Regions from separate parts of the Homo sapiens genome. Here region 2 is linked to region 1. Evidence: promoter capture Hi-C in human tissues and cell types (Jung and others, 2019). All regions are on one chromosome and are shown on one strand. Each heading gives the region's core, a stretch centred on a gene start or on the middle of the fragment in contact. The rest is flanking DNA. Distances are from core to core; before and after follow the strand shown. Region 1 holds the start of PI16 (peptidase inhibitor 16). Region 2 overlaps PPIL1 (peptidylprolyl isomerase like 1).

Evidence for each region. The method cuts DNA at HindIII sites, captures the fragments that hold promoters and counts their contacts. A contact is called where the count stands out against the background at its distance.
Region 2: a fragment that was not itself captured here is called in contact with the fragment with the promoter of PI16 in region 1 in 8 of the 25 tissues and cell types used here (IMR-90 fibroblasts, aorta, dorsolateral prefrontal cortex and 5 more).

What each region holds. Positions count from the first base shown.
Region 1 is chr6:36,952,335-36,957,804 of GRCh38, forward strand. PI16 (peptidase inhibitor 16) reads left to right here and starts at 2,404. Exons shown (of 7, transcript NM_153370.3): 1 at 2,404-2,597. The coding sequence starts at 2,427. The HindIII fragment of the contact is 39,732 bases long and covers 1-5,470 here.
Region 2 is chr6:36,857,562-36,863,031 of GRCh38, forward strand. The region is part of intron 2 of PPIL1 (peptidylprolyl isomerase like 1); the gene reads right to left. Among named protein-coding and RNA genes, the nearest start is that of PPIL1, 15 kb to the right of the region's middle. RefSeq lists an enhancer at 2,268-2,769. The HindIII fragment of the contact is 5,580 bases long and covers 164-5,470 here.

The sequences.
Region 1 (5,470 bases), core at 1,154-3,653:
TTTTGTTGCCTATGCTTTTGGTGTCATATCCAAGAAATCCTTGCCACATCCAATGCCAAGAAGTCCCCCTTATATTTTCTTCTAAGAGTTTTGTAGTTTTAGCTTTTATGTTTAGGTATTTAATCCATTTTGGAGTTAATTTTTTAATATACTTACGGTAAAGATTCAACTTCATTATTTCGCATGTGGACATTCCAGTTTTCTAAGTCTTCTTTAAAAGACTTGCCTTTCCCTCGTTGAACGGTCTTGGTACCCTTGTCTAAAATCATTTGACCATATGTGTAAGAGTTTATTTCTGGGCTATTCTATTCCATTAGTCTAAATGTCTGTCTTTATACTAATACCACACTATTTTAATTATTGTAGATTTGTGGTTACATATTAAAATCAGAAACTGTAAGACTTCCAATTTTGTTCTTTTTCAAGATTGTTTTGACTATTTGGGGTCCTTTGAGATTCCATATAAATTTTAGGATGGATTTTTCTGTTTCTATAAAAATATTATGATTTGCATTTCAATAGGGATTGCATTGAATCTGTAGATTGCTTCAGGCAACATTGACACCTTAGCAATATCAAGTCTTCTAATCCATGAATATAGGATGACTTTCCATTTATTTGTGTCTTCTTTCACTTTGTTTGTCAACACTTGTGATTTTCAGCGTACAAGTCTTTTGCTTCCTTGGTTAAGTTTATTGCTAAGGGCCAGGCGCAGTGGCTCACACCTGTAATCCCAGCACTTTGGGAGACCGAGGCGGGCGGATCACGAGGTCAAGAGATCAAGACCATTTGGCCAACATGGTGAAACCCCATCTCTACTAAAAATACAAAAATTTGCCGGGCATGGTAGCAGCTATGGTGGGCAGCATGGTGGGCAAGTAGTCCCAGCTACTTGGGAGGCTGAGGCAGGAGAATCACTTGAACCCAGGAGGCAGAGGTTGCAGTGAGCCAAGATCATGCCACTGCACTCCAGCCTGGGTGACAGAGCGAGACTCCATCTCAAAAAAAAAAAAAAAGTTTATTGGTAAGAATTTTATTCTTTTTATTCTTTTTCATTGCTTTTATAAATGAAATTGTTTTCTTAATTTCCTTTTTGGATTTTTCATTATTAGTGTATAGAAACAACTAATTTCTATGTGTTAATTTTGTATCCTGCAACTTTGCTGACTTTATTAATTCTAATAAGTGTGTGTGTGTGTGTATGTGTGTGTAATCCATCTTGGTTTTGTTTTTATTTTTACTTGGAGACTCAGGCAGGGACAGGTTTTCTTGTCATCTTCCAAAGCCTGTGGGTAGACTTTTTCTAGGTCCCTATTCATTGAAGAAGCAGGCTTCAAGGATCCCAGCTGTCCTCAAGAGTACTGGTTCCAGCTTCCTGCTTCATGAACCGGTCATGGCCCCTGCAAGGTCAAGGTCATTATAATGCCAGCACCTGACTGCTAAGGCTATTTCCCTTCCAATACCTTCCCCTCAGAGCTCCTGGTGCATCAGCTCATTCAACCTTCTGCTTTTCTGCTCTCTCTTGATTTAAGAAACAGACACATTATATTTCTACATAGTTAGAGCACAGGGGTCCCAGCATCCCACTTCCAAATGAGCATGTCAAGCACATGCATTCAGAGAGGATACCTGGAAGCCAAAATTTTGCCATAGTGAAAGGCCTTATTCCTGAATACAGCTAGAGTGGGGAAGACCTTGGCCTCTCCCCCCGCAGGCAAGAATGTTGCCTCCACAGGGGGCTGGTAGCCTGCTAAGGCCCAGGCCACATGAGTGGGTTGTCTACTGTTACTGAGGGCCTACTATGTGCCAGACACCATACTAGGTGCTTTACATACATTATATGTCATTGAATCTTCCCTCTAGTCCTGTGAGATAGGTACTATTATTGTCACTGATTCACTTGAGAAAGCTGCCAAAACACAGATAGCAAGGGGCAGAACCAGGATTCTGATTTAGGTTGGCTCAGCCTTTTATCAAATACATCTGGTCTTCCTCTGTCCTTTCAAAAGCCTATAGCTTCCTCATCTTGCCCACTCCTCTGTGGGTAGGGTCTGTGGTTTCCTTTCTCTTATCTATCTTCAACACACAGTGGGTGTGACCTGGGTGCAACCAGTCACAGCTCTGCAGAGGTTACTGTGATTTTGCCCCTGAAGGATCTGTCCACAACTTAGGAACTCACACAGCTTTTGGCCTGAGCCCCCGTTACCAAGAGAAAGGAGGTTTTTGCCAAGGACTCCAAGGGGAGTGCACTTGATGCTGGTCGGGACCCAAAGCGCCCAGCCCTCCCTGAGACATTGTGTGAGTCGGGCTGGGCCTCAAACACGGCCCCCACTGCCCCACCCCAGCCAGGGTGGTGCTTGTGTGGGAAGGACTTTAAATCCAGCTGCCAGACCCCTGGACGGGAGAAGGAGAGACGGCTGGCCACCATGCACGGCTCCTGCAGTTTCCTGATGCTTCTGCTGCCGCTACTGCTACTGCTGGTGGCCACCACAGGCCCCGTTGGAGCCCTCACAGATGAGGAGAAACGTTTGATGGTGGAGCTGCACAACCTCTACCGGGCCCAGGTATCCCCGACGGCCTCAGACATGCTGCACATGGTAAGTGTGGCCACGGCCCTTGCTGGCTGGGATGGAAGGGGTGCTGGCCAGGGTCTGTCACCAGGCTCTCTTACCCTGCTCCTCATGCTGAAGCTATTTCAGAATTCCTCTCCTTTTTCTGGTCAGTGACAGAGTCCCCGAGTCCCTGACATGGTATTACATTACTTTAAATGGCAAAAACCACAATTACTTTTGCACCCGCCTAATAAAATTCACAGGCCCCTATAAGCAGCCTCATAATACAGATAAGGAAAGTGAGGCTCAGAGGGATTTGTTGGGGTCACACAGCTGGTAGAGCCAGACCCAAAGCCCTGGCTTCCCACTCCAATGAGCTTTCCCCAGCACTTCCTCAAATGCATGTGCCCTCAGTGGGGGAACCCGGGAAGTTCTTAACACCTTTGTGAAAACGGTCTTTCACATGCCTGCCAAGGAGAGGACAAGAGGAAGCAGGGCAGCAGGATGGGCGTGGGCACGTGGAGTAGGAGGCAGGTGCTAAGGAGGTGGGTGACAGCAGGATCCAGAAGCAGAGAGGGCTCTGGATCACACAGTCCAAATTCTGTCTCGGTCACCTACAAGACCTATGATTCGAGGCAAGTCCTGTAACCTTGCCGATCCCGTGTCTCATCTGTAAAAGGCGGTCAGAATTAGAGCTACGTATATACCAGTGTGGATTGAATCTCACAGATATCATACTGAATGGGGGAGGAAATAAAATCTCTAAAAAATACACAGTAGGATCTCTTTACATGAAGTCTGAAAACATGTAAAAATACTATTTATGTCCTGGTGAAACACGCAGATGTAGTAAACATTACATGTACATGCACACAGGAGACAGAAGCCAGATTTAGGGTTGGTTACTTCTGTCAGGAAGAGCTATTTATGGTAGGGTGAGAGGCGGGCTGTCTATATGCAGAATTAAAGGAGATAAAGTGAGAAATTCACCCACTTCCTGCCCTCCCTGAGGGCTGAACTAGCTTGTCCCCTCCAGCCACCCTCAGGTGACTGGGGAGGTTGCTGGGCAGTGTTCAGGGACCCCTGGAGCTGGTGCCTGAGAGAACAGATGCACCTTGGGGAACATAACAGTGAGCCTGGGGCCCCAAACCTAAGTTCTAACCTCAGCCTAATGTGATCTGGCTGAAGTAACTCTGGGTGGACCCCTTTCCCTTCAAAGGCCTCTGTTTCCAGATGGAAACATGGGGCTGGCGATCCCTGCCCTGGGCGTCAGACAGGATGACACGTAAGAAAGATCTAGGAAGAGCTCTGCACACACCCAGCACTGCCGTTCACAGCTGTGCCAGCCTGCACATCGAGGAAAGGTGGACAACAAACCAGGCGTCACAGATGCAGCTCTGCCAACAGCTCCCTGATTGAGGCCTGTGACTCATTGTTGGACTTCAGTTTCCCCACCTGTAGATCCCTGATGCCCTACAGTCTTGCTGGCTGAGACTGGGGGCCACACAGGCTGGGAGCTGCTTCTCAGACAGAGGTGCGCCTTGGAGTGGGGCAACATTCTGGGAGGCAGTTGGGATACTGAGGGGATATGCTGCTGCCTAATGGGGAGTGACATGAGGAGGAGGAGATGAGGCTGGGGCTGGGATGCCAGGAAACATTCAGGACAAGACTCAGGTTCAACCTCAGCAGTGGTGAGGGCAGGGACTCTGCAGCCAAATGGCCTGGGTTCAAATCTTAGCTTTGTTACTTATTAGCTTTGTGACCTTGGCCAAATTAAACTCTCTGTGCCTCAGTCTCCTCATCTGTAAAATGGGGATGATAACAGTGGGATAATTCCCTTGTAGCTACAGTGGTTGTAGGGTTAAGTGAGTGAATATGTGTAAAGCACTCAGAAGAATGCCTGGCACACAGTAAGTGCTCAGTAAGTGTCTGATTAACACAAAAGAGGGAATGGATCCAGGGTGAGGCAGGTGGGGGTTATCATGAACTCTTCCTTCTCTCTCAGCCTCCAGAGCTAATCAGCACCAGTTTTGCCACCCCGAAGGTTCAATTGTCCTTGAAATCTAACCCTTACCCCTACCCCCTTCTCTTTTCAGCACAATCCTGGTTCAGGTTTCTTTCATTCTTCCACACAAGGACTCCTAGGATAGCCTCTACCTGTTCCCCAGCTTCTGGCCTCTGCTGTCAGAATGAATAATCCAACACATGGGCCTGACCCTGCTCAAAATCCTTCAGTGGCTCCCATGGCTCCCTACTGCTTCAGGTTAAAGCTCCAGCTCCTGACTGAGAAGGTTCTGTGTGTTCTGGCCCCTGCCTATCTCTCCATCCTCCTCTCCCGCTTGCCCTTTATTCTTCTGTCACCTGAACAGCTTGTCTTTTCCCAGCCAAAATGTTTCCCAGCTTCATGCCTTTGCTGATGTGTACCTTCTGATTAGGATGCCTCTCCCCTCCAGCTGACTAATGCCTCATCTTTTAACACTTAGCTTGGTGTCTCCCTCTCCACCTTTGGCTGGGCTAGATGGCCCTCTTTGGTGCCTCTATAGTACTTGTGGCACATCTGTCATTTACCATGTGGTGGCCCAAATGACTTTTATGTCAATGGAAATTTGGGCTTCTTGGTTCCTGCTGTTGTCCCAGGGCTGACACAATGCCCAGGACTGTTGAATGAATGAATGAATGGACTTGCTTCTAGATGGTGACCATGTGGCCAATGTGGGTGGGTGCTGAGAGTCTTACAAACTCCACAGGGGGCTCTGGATGACTGACTGAGAATCCTTAAGACCAAAGCAATGATGCTAATGGTGGGGCTCCAGATATCTAGTCAGAATGGAAATTACAGCCAGGCTCTGTAGGGGTAGACTGCTTTAAGAAGGGCCCTGTCTCAGTCATCAATAGTTGACAAGTATCTGTTGAGCACC
Region 2 (5,470 bases), core at 1,704-4,203, 94 kb before region 1:
CTCCTTGGCTTCCCAAGTGCTGGGATTATAGGCGTGAACCACTGCACCTGGCTCACAAAAAAATTTTAAAATTCAGCCAGATGTGGTAGCACATGCCTGTAGTCCCAGCTCCTTAGGAGGCTGAGGCAGGAGGACTGCTTTGAGCCCAGGAGTTTGAGTTTACGGTGAGCTATGATCATGTCAGTATACTCCAGTCTAGGCAAGAGGCAAAACCTTGACTCTAAATAAATGAATAAAGGGAAAATGAAGAAACATGGGATTGGGAATTATTTGCTAGCAGCATCACCACCAAATGTTATTTATATTATGCCCACAAGAGCAGGGTGCTGGGCTGGATACCCTAAGCTCAGGCAGGTTTTGCTCTAAGAGCAAAAGGATGTAAGTTAGACCAGGCGCGGTGGCTCATGCCTATAATCCCAGCACGTTGGAAGGCCAAGGCAGGTGGATCACGAGGTCATGAGTTCGAGACCAGCCTGGCCAACATAGTGAAACCCCCATCTCTACTAAAAATACAAAAAAAAAATTAGCCAGGCATGGTGGCACACACCTGTAGTCCCAGCTACTTGGGAGGCTGAGGCAGGAGAATTGCTTGAACCCAGTAGGTGGAGGTTGCAGTGAGCCGAGATCATGCCATTGCACTCCAGCCTGGGCGACAGAGCAAGACTGTCTCAAAAAAAAAAAAAAAAAAAAAAAAAGATGTAAGTTAAACATGGTTTTCTCACAGGAAAACATGTCAAAACAGGAGGCAACTTTCCTAACCAATACTAATCAATTATGTAGTCAATCATATGCCTTACTGAACTACATTGGTTTCTCCAAGTTGAACGGTCACGACAAAACAGCCTAGAACAAAGTAAACACTGGATTGGTACTCTGCTTGCCCTGCAGCCCAGTGCTGGCAGCTCACTTCCTCTACTGCCTGCTATAAAAGTAGCACCAAGTCCACCCCCAAGGCCCCTGGGCATGGCTAAGGTGTTTCCATGGCAAAAATCCTTTGCTTTACCTTTTAGTCGGCTTCACCACAGGGAGCCTGTCACAGCCCCCGTTTCTTTTCCGGAAGAAAACACTGTTCTCATGCAAAGAGGGATGGGGGTGAATCCTAACAGACTAGGGGAAACCTCCCACTTGGCCCAGGCTACCTATGCTTCTGGAAAAATACTGAACCACACTAAACTGTGTAAAACTCATTCCAAAAATTCCAACCTGTCAGTATACTTCCAAACAGCAATTATATAACCAATATGTTCCCTCTGACTCAATCCTCCCCTTTGCTTGGTCCTTTGGCAACCACTAGAGAGTCAAGGTTCCTGGCTGGGGTTACCAGAGACTAGGGAGAGGGCTGTGGGGCCAGACGCCACAGAGGCCAGGCTCTGCGTGCAGGACTTGAGTGAGCAAGCTAAGGATTCAGTTCAGTAGTACGCTGTCAGTCTGTGGCCTGAGCTTCAAAGTGTGATCCCTGCAACCTGAGGGCTACCAGAACAAACCCCCCAGGACCCTGCCCTCTAGGAATGGTAAACTATCACACAAACATCACCACAAACAAGAAGTGCATTAAGGAATAGGTCAGTCAAGAGTCACAGATGGGCTGGGCATGGTGGCTCACACCTGTAATTCCAGCACTTTGGGAGGCCGAGGCAGGCAGATCATGAGGTCAGGAGTTTGAGACCAGCCTGACCAACATGGTGAAACCCCATCACTAATAAAAATACAAAAATTAGCCAGGCGTGGTGGCACGTGCCTGTAATCCCAGCTACTTGGGAGGCTGAGGCAGGAGAATCGCTTGAACCTGGGAGGCAGAGGTTGCAGTGAGCTGAGATCGCACCACTGCACTGCAGCCCAGGCAACAGAGTGAGACCCTGTCTCAAAAAAAAAAAAAAAAAAAAAAAGTCACAGATGAAGTGGGAATCAGAGGATACAGGAGGAAAGAGCATGGAGATCACCTTTACTCAATAGGCAGAGTTTTCATAATATCTTACTCATAATATGTTATCTTTTCATAACCCAATTCAACTCAGTAGGGTTTGCGGCAAAATTTCAGAAAGACAAATCATTCTAATTCAAACATTCCTCTGGGCACGTGGAATAAGTGAGAGGTGGCAGAGGGACAGAGAATGATTAAAGAGTTCTCCAGTGCAGAGCATGCTACTCAGATGTCAATTATCAGTTAGAAAGCCAACAATTTGGAAGCTTTGCAGGTTCTGTGCCTGGTCTAGCACAGACACAATGAAGATAGGCAGACCTGTTTTCTATTGTGTGTGTGTGTGTGTGTGTGTGTGTGTGTGTTTTGAGACAGAATCTCACTCTATCACCAGGCTGGAGTGCAGTGGTGCGATCTCGGCTCACTGCAACTTCTGCCTCCCGGGTTCAAGTGATTTTCCTGCCTCAGCCTCCTGAGTAGCTGGGACTACAGGCGCCCGCCACCATGCCCAGCTAATTTTTGTATTTTTAGTAGAGATGGGGTTTCACCATGTTGCCCAGGATGGTCTCAATCTTGACCTCATGATCTGCCAGGCTCGGCCTCCCAAAGTGCTGGGATTACAGGTGTGAGCCACCACACCCGGCCAAGACCTGTTTTCTAACCTTTGATTACAGGTTAGAAAAGAACCTTCAAGATTCTTTTCTGGCCAGGTACAAGTGGCTCACACCTATAATCCCAACACTTTGGGAGGCTGAAGGGGGCGGATCTCTTAAGCCCAGGAGTTGAGACCAGCCTAAGCAACATGGTGAAACTCGTCTCTACAAAAATTAGCCAGGCGTGGTTGTGCGTGCCTGCAGTCCCAGCTACAGCTACTCAGGTGGCTGAGGTGAGAGGATCACTCAAGCCCAGTAGGTCGAGGCTAGAGTGAGCTGTGATTGCGCCATTGCACTCCTGTCTGTCTCCAAAAAAAAAGAGATTCTTTTCCTCTTCTGTCCTCTGTCCTCTCTTGGGATCATTTATTCAATGTATTTATTTCAGACACGCAAACATACAAAGAATAATATGACCAATATCTATGACCACCTCCGCCCCCAAGAAATAAACTATTGCAAATCCAGCTAAGACCCCATGCATACACCCCACTGCATCTCTCCCCACCACTCATTCTCCTGAGAGCTAACAGCTGATTCAAAGAATCACATTTTCCTCTCAGGTAACCACTATTCTGACAAGAATTTGGCATTTCCATGCATTTTCTTTTTTACTACACATATATGTATCCCTAAAAAAAAAAAAAAAAAAGTATTGCTGTTTTGCATGTTTTTAAGCTTTTTTACTACACATCTATGTACCCCTAAAAAAAAAAAGTATTGTTGTTTTGCATGTTTTTAAGCTTACATAAGTGGTATTACACTTTATATATTCTCAACACTGTTTGAGAGACTCATCTACTTTGTTCCAGGCAGGTCTCTGTAGTGTTCACCTCACTGTATGACCATAATGCTCTGTCTTATCTTTTCTGGTGTTGATACTGAGGATCTTTCCAATGTTTTGGTTATTATCGACCATGCTATAAAAACTATTCTTATACTGTCTCCGAAATCCAAGTGCAAGAGCTCTCGGGGGCCAATACCTCACAGGGGATACACAGGGTCATAGTTTGAGTATTTCATCATTGCTAGATTTTTCTAAGTGCCTTATTGAAAAGGATGAACCAACATGCACCCCACCCCGCAGCACTCTCACTCTTACTGCTCTAGGTCCTTCTGTCAGTCTGAGAAGTGTGAGACCTCTTGTGGTGTTTTAAACTGCATTTCTCTGAAGTTTGGCATAATTTCATGTTTACTGGCTTATTTAGCTTGTCCCCTCTGTGAACGGCCACTCAGTGGTATGACATTTTGGAATTGATACATACAGTCATCCCTTGGTATACTCAGGGGATTGGTTCCAGGATCCCTGTGACACCAAAATCCCTGCTCGCTCAAGTCCCGCTGTGGGCTCTGAGAAAACTGTATGGACCTCCATGGTTCAAACCCATGTTGGTAAAGGCTCAACTATATACTATAGATACTAATCCTCTGTCAGTGAATGTTTTGCAAATACCTTCTCCCAGTTAACTTTTTTCACTCTTGTAATGGGATCTTCCAATGAACAGAACCTTTGCAGTTAACATTTCTTAACCTTCTTCTTTATGATCTGTGTTTTTTTTTTTTTTTAATTCCTTTTTTTTTTCTGAGACAGAGTTTCGCTCTTGTGGCCCAGGCTGGAGTGCAATGGTGCCATCTTGGCTCACCGCAACCTCCGCCTCCCAGGTTTAAGCAATTCTCCTGCCTCAGCCTCCCGAGTAGCTGGGATTACAGGCATGCGCCACCATGCCTGGCTAATTTTGTATTTTTAGTAGAGACGGGATTTCTCCATGTCGGTCAGGCTGGCCTCAAACTCCTGACCTCAGGTGATCTGCCTACCTCGGCTTCCCAAAGTGCTGGGATTACAGGTGTGAGCCACTGTGCCTGGCCTGTGTTGTTTCTTAAAAACAAAACACAAAAAACCCTTTTCTCATCCCTGTGACTCCTGTGATGTCCCTTCCTCCTCCTCTTAGTCACTGTGGAAACCTGTCAAAATGATGTCTAAGGCATGGGACATGCAGTGTCTTACACCAAGATGACCACACTTGGTGCTACTTGTCCCCGCCCCTCCCACCCCACAGTTGATGGGACAATAGATTAATATCCAGCCCCACAGATGGGCAGTGGCCTATAAGGAGAGCCAGTGGGGCACCTGACACCAGAGGGCAACTGACCAATCAAAGCCTCTCTTCTGGCAAGAGTGCCTCTAACAGACACTGTCCGTCAGTAGTCTCCTGAGCATCCCCAGCCTCCTCCTCCACAGCCTGCCTCAACCTCAGAGACAAAAAAGGCAGGTGCTGACAAGTCCATTTTGCAGACAGGCGTGGCCAGATGACCCAGTTGTGACTTACTGATACAAACAGAAGTCGCTGAGTCAAGCTTCTGAGAAAGCTACAGCTTTCCTGATAAAAACAGACATACTCTTTTGTCCTTCATCTACAGCTCTTTCCCATCTTCCTTCTTTGAAAGTAGGGTGATGCCAGAACAGCAGCAGCCATCTTGCAACCATAAGACTAACAAGTTCAAGACCAAAGGCCAACACATTACGAATGAAGTGGGGAAAGATATGGCAAGCCTAGATCCCTGACAACTCTTCTGGGCTGGTGAAGAGATGACAATAACTGCTCACTTCCAGACGTTCTGTTGTGTAAGAAAAAACAGCCCGTGGGATTAGGTTTTCTGTTACTTGTAGCCAAAAGCAGTGCTACCTGACACAAACACTTTGTTAATATACCAGACGGGAACAATGCCACAGTCCTCCAAGGGGCTTTGTGGTTCTGAAGATGCTGTCTTCTCTTTCTCACTTGCCTTTGGGGTCAGAGACGTCTGGATTCCAGTTCTGACCCCACCAATTACTGTTTAACCTTAATCAAGACACTTTCTCTCCAAGCCTCAGTTCCCCTGTCTGCAAAATGGGAGTAGCAGT